Linked DNA regions of Homo sapiens: region 1 is linked to region 2. Evidence: promoter capture Hi-C in 16 types of primary human blood cells and fetal thymus (Javierre and others, 2016). All regions are on one chromosome and are shown on one strand. Each heading gives the region's core, a stretch centred on a gene start or on the middle of the fragment in contact. The rest is flanking DNA. Distances are from core to core; before and after follow the strand shown. Region 1 overlaps CABCOCO1 (ciliary associated calcium binding coiled-coil 1). Region 2 holds the start of RTKN2 (rhotekin 2).

Region 1 (5,619 bases), core at 210-2,709, 520 kb after region 2:
GTACCTGTTAGGGATAGGCCAGACAAAGAGAAGAGCAAGGACAGGGAGGCCATAGTGGGGTTTGTAAGTGGACCTTGTCAACCTTGTCAACTAGCCTCATAATAGTTACCCAAAGCCAGAGGAATAAGTGGTATTAAGTGACCTGGAATATAAAAACATGTCAAAATAAACTTGGCTCTGGAAGAATTTGAGCGTAATTGCTAACTTCTGATAAATATTACTTTGATTATAAAGAAGAACAGAAGAAATACTGTTGTTGGTCAGTGGTTATTTTTACTTAAAACATTTATAGTTAGATGGATACAAATAGACCTCTGGTCATAGACTATGAAAAACACATTTGATAGCTAGATATAAAAATCCCAGTATTAATAACTACTGACATTTATGTAGTCCTTTCCTTCCAAAGCTCTTGACAAACATTACTGACTGTATACACAGAGGAATAGCACTGAAATGCTGCTATCCTTTCAAAAGACTAGACATTAATTCAAGGAAAAAGTAGCAAATGGAAATATAGGGCTGCAGAATATAGCGCACATTTGGAAACGAACTCATACATTTCACCTTGCTTGCAAAGTGTTTGCCATATTTTATTTTAATTTTATTGAATTGCTGGTGTTATTTAACTTAATTCTCTTACTTAGACCTCTATGGTGTTTGCCATTTTTCTTAGGTAGCGCCTAAGCTGATTTATGATACAGTAGGGCAATAAGTACCAGGGCTGATGTTCTCTCCTTTTGAGGACAATAGGTCTGACTCTCTAGCACCTCCTAGTGTGAGGAGGGCTGATATGCCAGCCAACATAGGTGTGCCATGTACTGGAAGACTAGTTTTATTTCATCACAAACTGAGATTGTATGTGGTTATTTGAGAACTACCACCTGGCTCAAACAAGTTTAATGATATATTAGGTCAAATGGGTTGCTGCTGAGCTGCTTGATGACCCTGATTAAAATGATGCTATGTTTGTTCATTTGCTTAAACAAAGTGTAAATTACAGGGTAGTAATCATTTTTAAAAGCCAGGAAACACAAAATGTTTAATGTACACGTTTAGAGCCCTCACTATAAAATATGAACAATTTCACTGCATTCTCAAAATATGACTGCAATGATAGAAATATAAATTAAGGTTATTTACATTTCCTGTAATAATGTTATACTTTGGAAATTTCAATTCAATTCAGGATTTATTTCCAATCACTTGTTTTAGATTTTAACATTCCTCCTGCCCTCTTCTATAAATCCTGTGTATCGTCAAAAGTTAAGTTAAACTCTTAGCAATTACTTAAAGCTTTCATATTTTTTCAGAAAACAAGGAACTTTATATTTTATAAACTCTCATTTATATTATCATTTTCACCTTCACTGAACATGCACTCCAAGCCAAGTACGGTACTAGGTCATGGAGATTCAGAGACAAACAACACAAAGGCTCTGACTTTTGAGGAGGTCTCAGTCTATTGTGTGGGTGGTGGGGGCACTTGGTAGGAATAACATAATTTGAAGAATGAAACAATTATTAGAAGTATATGTAGAGTGTTCTAGAAATATAGAAGAAGGATTGCCAATTGATTTTTGGTGGGAGGGAAGAGAAGAAGGGATTCAGAGAAAGCTTAAAAAGAGAGATGGTGCTTGAGTTGAATCTCAAAGGAGAAATAGGAGTTAGCATGCAGATGGGGTTGGATAGGGAGGGAAAATACCAGATAGACAGACAGACAGAGGAAGTGGCATATACAAATGAACAGATACATACGGAGAACATTCTAGAACAAAAGATGTGTGTGACACTGGTGAAAAGCTAGGGTCAAACAGGCCTGGGTTCAGCCCCAGCTTTGGTATTTTGTAACTACAAGACCTCTGGGAAAATCATCTAATCTCCTACAAGCCTTGGGTTTTCCATCCATTAAATGGGACAAATGACCGGCTGATTGATAGTAAACCAATTGGTAGAGTCAATTTTCTTAGAAACATATATAAAAATGCAAAAAATTAGAAAAATGGAAAGGGAAATTAAAGTGAAATTTAGTCGAGTGCTAATGTTTTAAATATTGAAATGTAAATGTTTTAAATTTAAAATGTGATTTACAATCTTTCACAGAGTAAGTCATGTCTAGAAGTAAGTATATGTTTGTCTTTTGCTATGGCTACATTGAAAGATGGAGAAAAATATAAAAAAGAAATCAAGGGATTTATTTTCCATATGTCCAAGTAATATCCAGCAACTTAAAAAACAAGTTTAGCAAAAGTTAGGACAATATATTTCCCTTCATTTGTTGAGAGGAAGCCTGCTTGATTAATGTAATTAAAGGGTTGCTTGTAACTCAAGACTCAATGAAAAAAATAAATTTGGCCTTATTACTTTACTTGCAACTGGTGGTTTTCCTAGTGTGATTTTTGAGCTAAAATCTGCGGCTGCTTTGTTCATGACACATGAATTGTTTTAGCACATCCTTTCCCCTGCTGTGCATATGATTAAGAAAGCAGAGGTTAAATAGTGCAGTAAAGAATTGGGTAAATTCATTCTATTTTTGCTCACAGTGCCTTTTAGTCCCCCTCCTTTTCAGGACTAGAAGAGTACAGAAACCTATTATCTTCTCCTGAAATTATTTAAGATATGTTCTTATGCTGAAAAAAATAACTTCTCTCTCAACATTTTCTAGTACACTGATTTTGTGATGTCTGTGCTATAGATATTGTCTGTATTGGCAGGAAAACCAAATGCAAGTACATCCTACCATTTATTGAGTGCTAATGTATGCTGGGCACTGTAATAAGCATTTTGCACACATTGTTTTATTTTTACTTTGTGATAATCCTATAAGACAGGGATAATCATTCTCATTTTTAGACGAGGAACAAGAAGCTCTGAGAGGTGATGTTACTGTTCCAAGGCCCCACAATTAGCAGGTGACAGAACTAAGGTGCTAAGTCTGGTCTATCTCATTCCAAATCTGGGCTCTTATCCACTTGCCTTTTTTTTTCTTTGTAGTTTGAGTTTGAGTCAAAGGATTTGAATCTAGTTTCTGGTGGAGCATCTTGCATATAGTTCGTGCAACACATGTTAAATTCAATTGAATAGAAATCTTATGTCATGAGAGTAAAAAGCAGTCAGTTCTTGCCCTCTTTGAGTTTATAGTCTAATGTGGGTGGCACTATAAAGTACAATACAATAGGCAGCATGGAGAAAACATGACAAGCTTAATGTCCCCGGCAAAGAAGCTTTTTTTCTTCACTCAGCCCTGTCTCCCCCCGAGTCTTGCAGCTACTCAAACTGAATCCTGGAAGGCATTCTTAATTCCTCCCTTTCGCTCACTCTTTGCACCCAATTTTTCAGCAAGTCCTGTCATATATATTCTGAAATAAAACTGAAATCGACTTCTCTCTACCTTCCACGCCACTATCCTGTTCCATGTGACTCAGACCACAGCCATTACCTTCTACCTGGTCTCCCTGCTTCCCCACATTTGGTAAGAACCATGTACAAACAGCAGCCAGAGAAGATTTTGTGAAGCCTGAAGCTAAATCAGTACATAAAATTAGGTACAGAAGTGAATCCATAGAATTCACAAATGTGGGTATACAGAATAATAAAAGAACAACAAATTACTTTTATTAAAAAGCTGACAAATTCCAAAAATAGCACAAAATTAAAAATTAAATTTAAAAATTAAGTGCTTAACCTATCTCAACAATACACTTAACCCTACTTTTTTGGGCTTCATATTCTAATCAGCCCTTCAGGTACAACAACATTAGAATATTATTTTCCGTAGAAAAAATAGAAAAATTAGTCAGTCTTTTTTCTAGCTTGGTTAACGGATATGTTTTTAAATTATTAATAGTTTAGGAAAGCTTCAGCCTCACAACTTATTATTGGTAACATCATATAGATTTTAGCATTAATGTCCAATTTCAGAAAACATTTAGCAAGTTTTCTTCATACATTAGCTAAAAGATTTAAGCTTCTTTTCAGGTTATTTTATGCAGGAAACAATTTAAAATACTCTTTACTCCTTAAATAGGTGGCACTCATTCACCAAGTTGTGTTGATGCCCTCCTTGGAAAGGCATATTATACAATTTATGCTACCTTCATCAATATTAGTTATTTTTTTGTAAAAATGCAAGAAGCTTAAATCTATTTTTAATGTTGTCATATGATTCACTTCTATTAATTGGGTTAGCAATTAATAATAAGCAATGCAGAAACTTATTCATTGCTTCCATTTAAAATGTATTTCTTCCTTTTATTGGATTTTAAAATTTATTTATTTATTTTTATTTTATTATTTTATTTTTTTTCTTTGAGATAGAGTCTCACTCTTGTCATCCAGGCTGGAGTGCAATGGTGCGATCTTGGCTCACTGCAACCTCTGCCTCCTGGGTTCAAGCGATTCTCTTGCCTCAGCCTCCCGAGTAGCTGGGATTACATGTGCACACCACACTCAGCTAATTTTTGTATTTTTAGTAGAGATGGGGTTTCACCATGTTGGTCAGGCTGGTCTCGAACTGCTGACCTCAAATGATCCTCCCACCTCAGCCTCCCAAAGTGTTGGGATTACAGGCATGAGCCACTGCACCCGGCCCTCTTATTGGATTCCTACTTTAGTTATGACCTCAATTTTGGGGAGTTATGATTTACTTCTTGATGTTAAATTAATTTCTATTGATTTCATTGCTCATTTATATTGTTCGTTTCATATTCCACTATATTTTAATTTTTTTCTCAGTTCTCAGTAAATAAGTCAATTTAAAGATGACAAAAGAAGGTACCCTGCATATAATCCCAAATCAGAAGTTGTAATTTCTCACTTGTTGAACTAAAACATTCCAGAAGTCTGCCCAAATTGCAGTTAAAATGGTATATTCAAAATTTACTGAATAAAATGTTTGCATTTCATTTGCACTTTGGTTTTTATTCCAAGTCTTCAAAAATATATTTTAGAGTTCTTAAAATGTCACTTAAATCATGGCAAGACTTGAATAGCTTTCTACACAGCTGATGTTTAGATGAATATCCCGTAGGCTTGCTGCTAGCTCCATACATTTCAAACCTGGTTTCTCCTCCTCCATTACTCACACATGTCCAGAGCCTGCCCACAAAGGACACACAGACAGGATCTGGCATCTTTCTATCATGATGTCACAGTGGATGGTACGAGAAGCTGTATCTATACAAAGATGGCGATAGATTATTATACAAGAGTTCCCTCTCCCAGTTGAGGTAATGACCTTTCTAATGTACATATCCAGTCCTATCTGTTTGTTGGAAGTTTATATTTTGTCATTCCAATATCACATTAAACTTAATGTATTTAAAACTAAACTTATATTCACATCTCATTATTATTATGAAAAATTGGCTTCGAATTATACTAATGGCACAACTTCTCTTTTAGATCCTCTTGTTCAAATGTGTGCAAATTTTGGTTTGTCTTAGCTTCTCAAGTCGTTTATATCCAAGTAGTTACCAACTTCTATGTTAAATTTCCTTTATAATTTTTTTTTTGAGACGGAGTCTCGCTCTGTCGCCCAGGCTGGAGCGCAGTGGTGCGATCTCTGCTCACTGCAGCCTCCGCCTTCTGGGTTCAAGCGATTCTCCTGCCTCAGCCTCC
Region 2 (5,823 bases), core at 2,035-4,534:
AGCAGAATTGCTAGGTAAACACATTTTCAACTTTACAAGACTGTTCTAAATTTGTTTTTTCCAAAGTGATTGGACATATTTCTATCTCCTCCACCAGCATATAATATCTCTTGGACCTGCATCTTTGCCAACCCCTAGTATTATCAGATTTCTTAATATTTCTCAATCTAGTGACTGTAAAATATCTCTTTGGGATCTTAATCTGCAGTTCACAGACTAATAATAAGGTTAAGCAACCTTTCCTATTTTATTTGTCACTTGGATTTACTCTCCTATAATATGCCTACCATACCTTTTGACCATTTTCCAGTTGAATTTTTATTGATTTATAGGAGTTCTTTATATATAGCATATTATTTAGCAGTGGTAGGTGATATATCTTGAATATATCCAATTCACATACATTTTTCTCATTCAGTTCTCATAGTTCTATAGGTACTTTACAGTTGCCTTTCGGTACTCATGTTTTCTTCCTACAGTAGTAACAACTCCTGTTTTTGTGGGACAGTTTACAAAGCACTCTCAAAAATCTTATCTGAGTCTCCCAACAACTTTAAAAAACAAGATGGGTATTATATACTTGTTTTATAGATAAGAAAACTGAGTGGCTTGCCCAAGGTAATCGGGCTAATAAATCCTCAGACTCCACATTCCATAGCCTCCTTCTGATTATGTGATGCTTCAGCTATTCATAGACATTCATTTAAGAAAATGCTGCACTTCTGCTTAGCACCTTGACCTCAGTTCCTTCTTTCTCTCTGTTTCTTCCATATATAATTCAAAATATAACTTTAATTTATTCAGTTCAACCTAAACAGATTATCTACAAGATGAACAGATGAGTAAAAGAAAGCACCAAGAGAATTTTTAAGAGGACTTTTTTTTTATAAGAGAGGCTAGGAGGATATTCAAAATCACAAGTTATCTGTTCTGTGTCAAACCACATTTTTCAAAATAATGGATCTGTTGTGTAACAGAGAGCTGATTTTAAGTTCAGTGTTTTCCTTTAGCCTCTTAGTTTAAAACAAGAATACAGAAAATAAGAGAAGAAAAATATACTTTGGCATCTATTGGTATTATCTAGATTGGCTTCTGTAGTTTTTAATTTATTATAATACTATCTGCTATATTAGGGATAACTAATATACGTATATTTTTAATTAGTATTAAATATTGACCTTATAGTGAGAAGTAATATTGGTAGGACAGTAATTCCATCACTCATCCTCTAGCTGAAGCTACTACATCTGGGCAGTTCGGTGGATATCGACCTTCTGTAAGAGCCCAGGGATGATGGGTTAAGAGATGCCCAAATGTTCTCTCTCAGATATTTGAGATGGTAAAACGTAGTACTTCTCACTTTCTGGGAACTGTAAAATAAATAGATTGATAGAGAAATCCTCAAGCTAATGAAGCCACTGCATATGAACTCTTTAAATTTTGTAGTTTCCATGGATGAGTATATTTTATGTGCATTACATACACCAGAGAAAACTGGCTGATGAAATTAGCAGTAACAAGTAAGGACTTGAGGATAAATAAGGAAACATAAGTCCTACTCCAAGGTATTTTAATCATCATATAATAATTAAGTACTTAAGCAATTCCTGGGGACCTCTCCCGGTGTATAATAAAAACAGGACCACATCATAACTTCTTCTCCCAAGAGAAAGGTCTCTTGTAACAACTGTATTCTACAGATAATTACTAAATATGATCTTGCCTAATCTCTTTCTTCTAGTATCATAAATAAATGTATCTCCAGTTAAATATCTGGTTTTAACTCATCAAATACTCCTCTATCAGTGTCCAATTCTAAACTGGTTGACTCACCTCTGTTTTAATGAAGTGCTGGCTTCTACATGTATTTTGATCTGCAACTGAGAGCTGTATGTGTTGTAAGTACTATGTGTCTGATGATGGGCTCGCGGTGTGTTTTTCTTTTGAGTCAGGTACTACAGCTAGGCTCATGCAGCCTCATACTGAGTAGGAGATAATTATACCACAAAGTGGTAGCATAAGACAGAGATGTGCATTGGAGGAAAGGGCACATAATGATTCTGAAATTCAGACCTGTGTTTGTAGAAAACGAGGTGAGCTCCGTGTTGATAATTTTGAACACATATTTTATTGTTGTAAGGATATGGGTCATTCATAATGCAAGGGGACCATCATTCCCAACTGGGAAGCTTCTAGTATCACCTAGTCCAAAAGGTCTTAAAGAGGCATTTTACCTATTTGAGGAAGGGTATCCATTATATTTTTAAAGTACATTCTCAAACCAACTGCTTTTAAAAGGGTCTTGCAGTTAAAATGACCACATAATATCCACTACGGGATAAGTGCAAGATTGGTGCAACATTGGGACAACAGACCCAGACAGGGTCTGTCCCAGGCAAATGAAAAAACATGGGCACCTATTTATGGAGGAAAAATGCCCAAGGGTTTCTAGGCGATGAGGGCTGGAGGGTTGATTTGGTAGACTCTTCAAGAAGAGGCTTCCTCTTGCCTTTTCAAGGGGGAAATAAAGATAAACTAGGGACAATGAATTTTAAGGACTTTTCAAGGGTGTGATATCTTTGCTGCTTTCATTTTGATTTTTAAAAATCCCATGTTTCCCTTTATAATTAACAAAATCCATGAATTAAAATGGGTCTTTGTGCTAATCTTTAGGGCAGCAAGAAATGAGGCTCTTGAGAAATAGTACCCCATTTTGCTATCACCTTAGATGTTGGAGAGGGAAAGAGAGGGCGAGAGAGCTGAAAGAAATCCTTCGCAAGAAAACAAAGTAAGTGGACAGAGTAGTTGGCGGGGAACATCTGGGATTATAAACACTGGGGGCAAAGACAAGACCTTGTGAAATGCCTGACATAGTATCTCACGAACCTGATGAATAAAACCATGATATCTGGGTGACCCTGGTGACAACGCTGGGAAAGGTGAGAGGAAACAGAGAGCGCTGTGTTTGAGAGTAATGTTATTGGTTCTTTAGGAACGAGACCGTGGGCTCTTAGTGACGCTGTGGGTTCCTGAGTTGTCTGGGAGTACAGGGACTGCAGCCTCGAGTCTGTCCAGCTACGATCACTTTGGAAGGCCTTCGGTGGGATGCGGGCAGAAAGCTCCCAGTGCAAAGGGCGTGCCACGAAAACCACCAGCCAGAAACCTGAGCTGGGACAGGTGCGCTCCGCCGCCGAAGCTTTCCCCGCGGCCCCTCCCACTCCCGTCCCAGGCCCGCCCACATCCCTGTCCGGGACTTAAGTCCGGCACCGCCGCCCTCTCCCCCGCCCCGCCGCGCTAGAGCCTGGGGTCTCGGCAACTTCCGGCGGCGGGAGCTGCAGAGCGCAAGGCGCGCCCACTGCGCGTGCGCTTCGGCCCGGCTCCTCCTGCGCCCCCGGCCCCTGCGACTGGGACTTGGTACGGCCGGGCGGTTGGCGTCCTCTGCGGCTCCTGCCAGGGGCGGGCTTTTCAAATCTTCCCTTTGAAGGAGTGGCGACGGCCCGGACAGTTCGCGTTGGAGATGGAGGGGCCGAGCCTGAGGGGTCCTGCGCTCCGCCTGGCGGGGCTTCCCACCCAGCAGGTGAGTTGCGGGAGGGACCCTGCCGCGGAAGGTGAGGGAGCCGGGGTTCTGTTCCTCGCGCATTTGCTTTGTGGAGGAGTCGGGAAAGCCTCTCCCCCGCTCCTCTATTTCAGCGGTGGCCAGAAACAAAGGGAGGGATTAGGAGACTGCGCTCTTGGGGCTCTAAAGGGCCTGGACATCGGAACCCCCGAGTTTCTCAGGCAGCTGAGGTCCGGATTGGGAAGGCGGTGCCGGGGTCCAGGCGCGCGTTTGCGGGCGCACCTGTCCGCTGCCCTCCCCAGGCTTTGGACGCCTGTCTTTTTGCAGGTGTAGGTGATGCCGGGGAAATGGGAGCCCCTCGATTCCCAAGAAACCCAGCGAGGCCAGTGGACAGCTGGCTTATTACGGATTTAATGGGAAGCACAGTAATGGAGCGATGTCTACACACAACACAGAACTGGTTGGGGGGAGGGGGTTCGGAGCGGAGTAGAGGCAAACAGCAACCTCTGCACTTTAGAAAAAGTTGAAGGTTTGATACTGGGTTCTTTCTCAAATCATTTGAAAGGAAAGAGGGAGTACACGTGACATTGGATAGAAGTTTGATGTTTGCTTTTGAGCCATGTAAAATGCGTTAGAAACCTTTTTATTTTACTTTTTACTAAACCAACATTATTTCTTGGCAGCATCAGTTATTAAAATGTTACCACTTTTCACTCTTAACCATAACTTTAGGGTCTTAAAAGAAAACTCTGATGTCTTTAAGCTGGACCTTCACTTCTATTTTAATCTCTACCTTCTTTTACCTACTTCAGAAATAGGTTAAGCCATATGAAATTGCCAGTTTTGTAGGTCAAAATTGGTAGAATATTTGCAATTTCATTCATATGGAGGCACCTGATATCTTTGTTTAAAAATCTGGGATTTCCTTAGCAGACACAAAATTATTAGTTTTCAATAATACTGTGAAAAATAAAGCAAGACATTAAGATTCATTATGCAAAAGAAGTCCAGTGTCTTTATCAGTAATACTTATGCTGTTTTATGCCAGCATTTTCAAAAATTTCAAAGATTTTGATGTACTTTTTTTCAGTCCTGTCCTGTTATGTACTTTGGCTGTCCTGATTGCTAACAAAATCTTGATTTATAGTGAATTGCCATTCTATTGATGTTCTTGCACCTATCATATAGGTGTAGGTGTAGCTGTCCAGGTGTATTTATTGAGCTGCAGGCTGCAAGAATAGGAATGGTACAGAAGCGACAAGAGGATAAAATCATGAAGTTTAGTTGCATGGAATGAAAATAAATGTTTAAATATACATAAAGCCTGGGTTATTTACATGTGGGAAGATACAATACTTAATTTCTTAGGCAGGACAAAATCAAAATGATTGAAATGTGGAATTACTTCCTCAGTTTGGATTTGAAGAAAAAACACAAAATAGTAGTAGGTTGCAACCTAACAGGAATATTGAGAGTCAGATAATTTTATACTTGACTAACACTGAATTTTTATTTGGTATTTCCTTTGATACATGAATGAAGCTGCCACGTAATCGAGATAAGGCCAAAGATTTTGAGGTGGTCACACACTGGTCAAACACCTCTGCTGAAACCCTGGAGTCCTCTGCGACTCCTCACAGCATAGAGTATTGGCTTTGGAGTCAGATTCAGGTCAAACCAAACTCTTCTTGTTGTGCAACCTTGAATAAGTTATCTCTGTTTTCTAAGTTTCAGTTTCCACCGTTGTAGCTTGGGTATTCCGCCTATCCCAGACAGCTGTTGGAATTGGAGAACCTCTCTAAAGTACTTATCACAGCACCTAGCACTCAGGATGTGCTTCAGAGATGACTATTGTTGTTATTATCCTTTGTCCTATTCATCTGAGTGGTTAGGGCAGTCCCCTACTTTTCTTACAAATGTTTAAGCTTTTGGCATCTTAATAAAAATAAAATTCAAAAAGTAATACTATCTCATTGCAGAAAAGTCAACATATACAGAAACATGAATTTAAGAATTCGGTCTCCAGTTCCATTCCCCAGAATGGCCGCTGTTAACAATTTCCAGACTTTTTTCTGTACATAAACAATTCTTAAAATCCACACAGTTTCTTTTAGCAAAATGAGAACGTACTGTATTTACTCTTTTCTTCTTCACCTTGGTCTTTGTTAACATGGCTTAACTATATCCATTAGGTGAATCATAGTTTCTGTCTTGATTACTGCGGTTGTCTTACCGGGAGTTCAACTTCAGGTTTTTTTAGTCAGTTT

The links. Contacts are between HindIII fragments. The CHiCAGO score rates a contact against its expected background, and 5 or more counts as called.
Region 1: a fragment that was not itself captured here is called in contact with the fragment with the promoter of RTKN2 in region 2 in 1 of 17 cell types (activated CD4 T cells); the score reaches 5.6 in activated CD4 T cells.

What each region holds. Positions count from the first base shown.
Region 1 is chr10:61,739,836-61,745,454 of GRCh38, reverse strand. The region is part of intron 5 of CABCOCO1 (ciliary associated calcium binding coiled-coil 1); the gene reads right to left. Among named protein-coding and RNA genes, the nearest start is that of CABCOCO1, 80 kb to the right of the region's middle. The HindIII fragment of the contact is 321 bases long and covers 1,299-1,619 here.
Region 2 is chr10:62,266,305-62,272,127 of GRCh38, reverse strand. RTKN2 (rhotekin 2) reads left to right here and starts at 3,284. Exons shown (of 12, transcript NM_145307.4): 1 at 3,284-3,577. The coding sequence starts at 3,518. The region is part of intron 1 of LINC02621 (long intergenic non-protein coding RNA 2621); the gene reads right to left. RefSeq lists a silencer at 3,203-3,532. The HindIII fragment of the contact is 2,285 bases long and covers 3,199-5,483 here.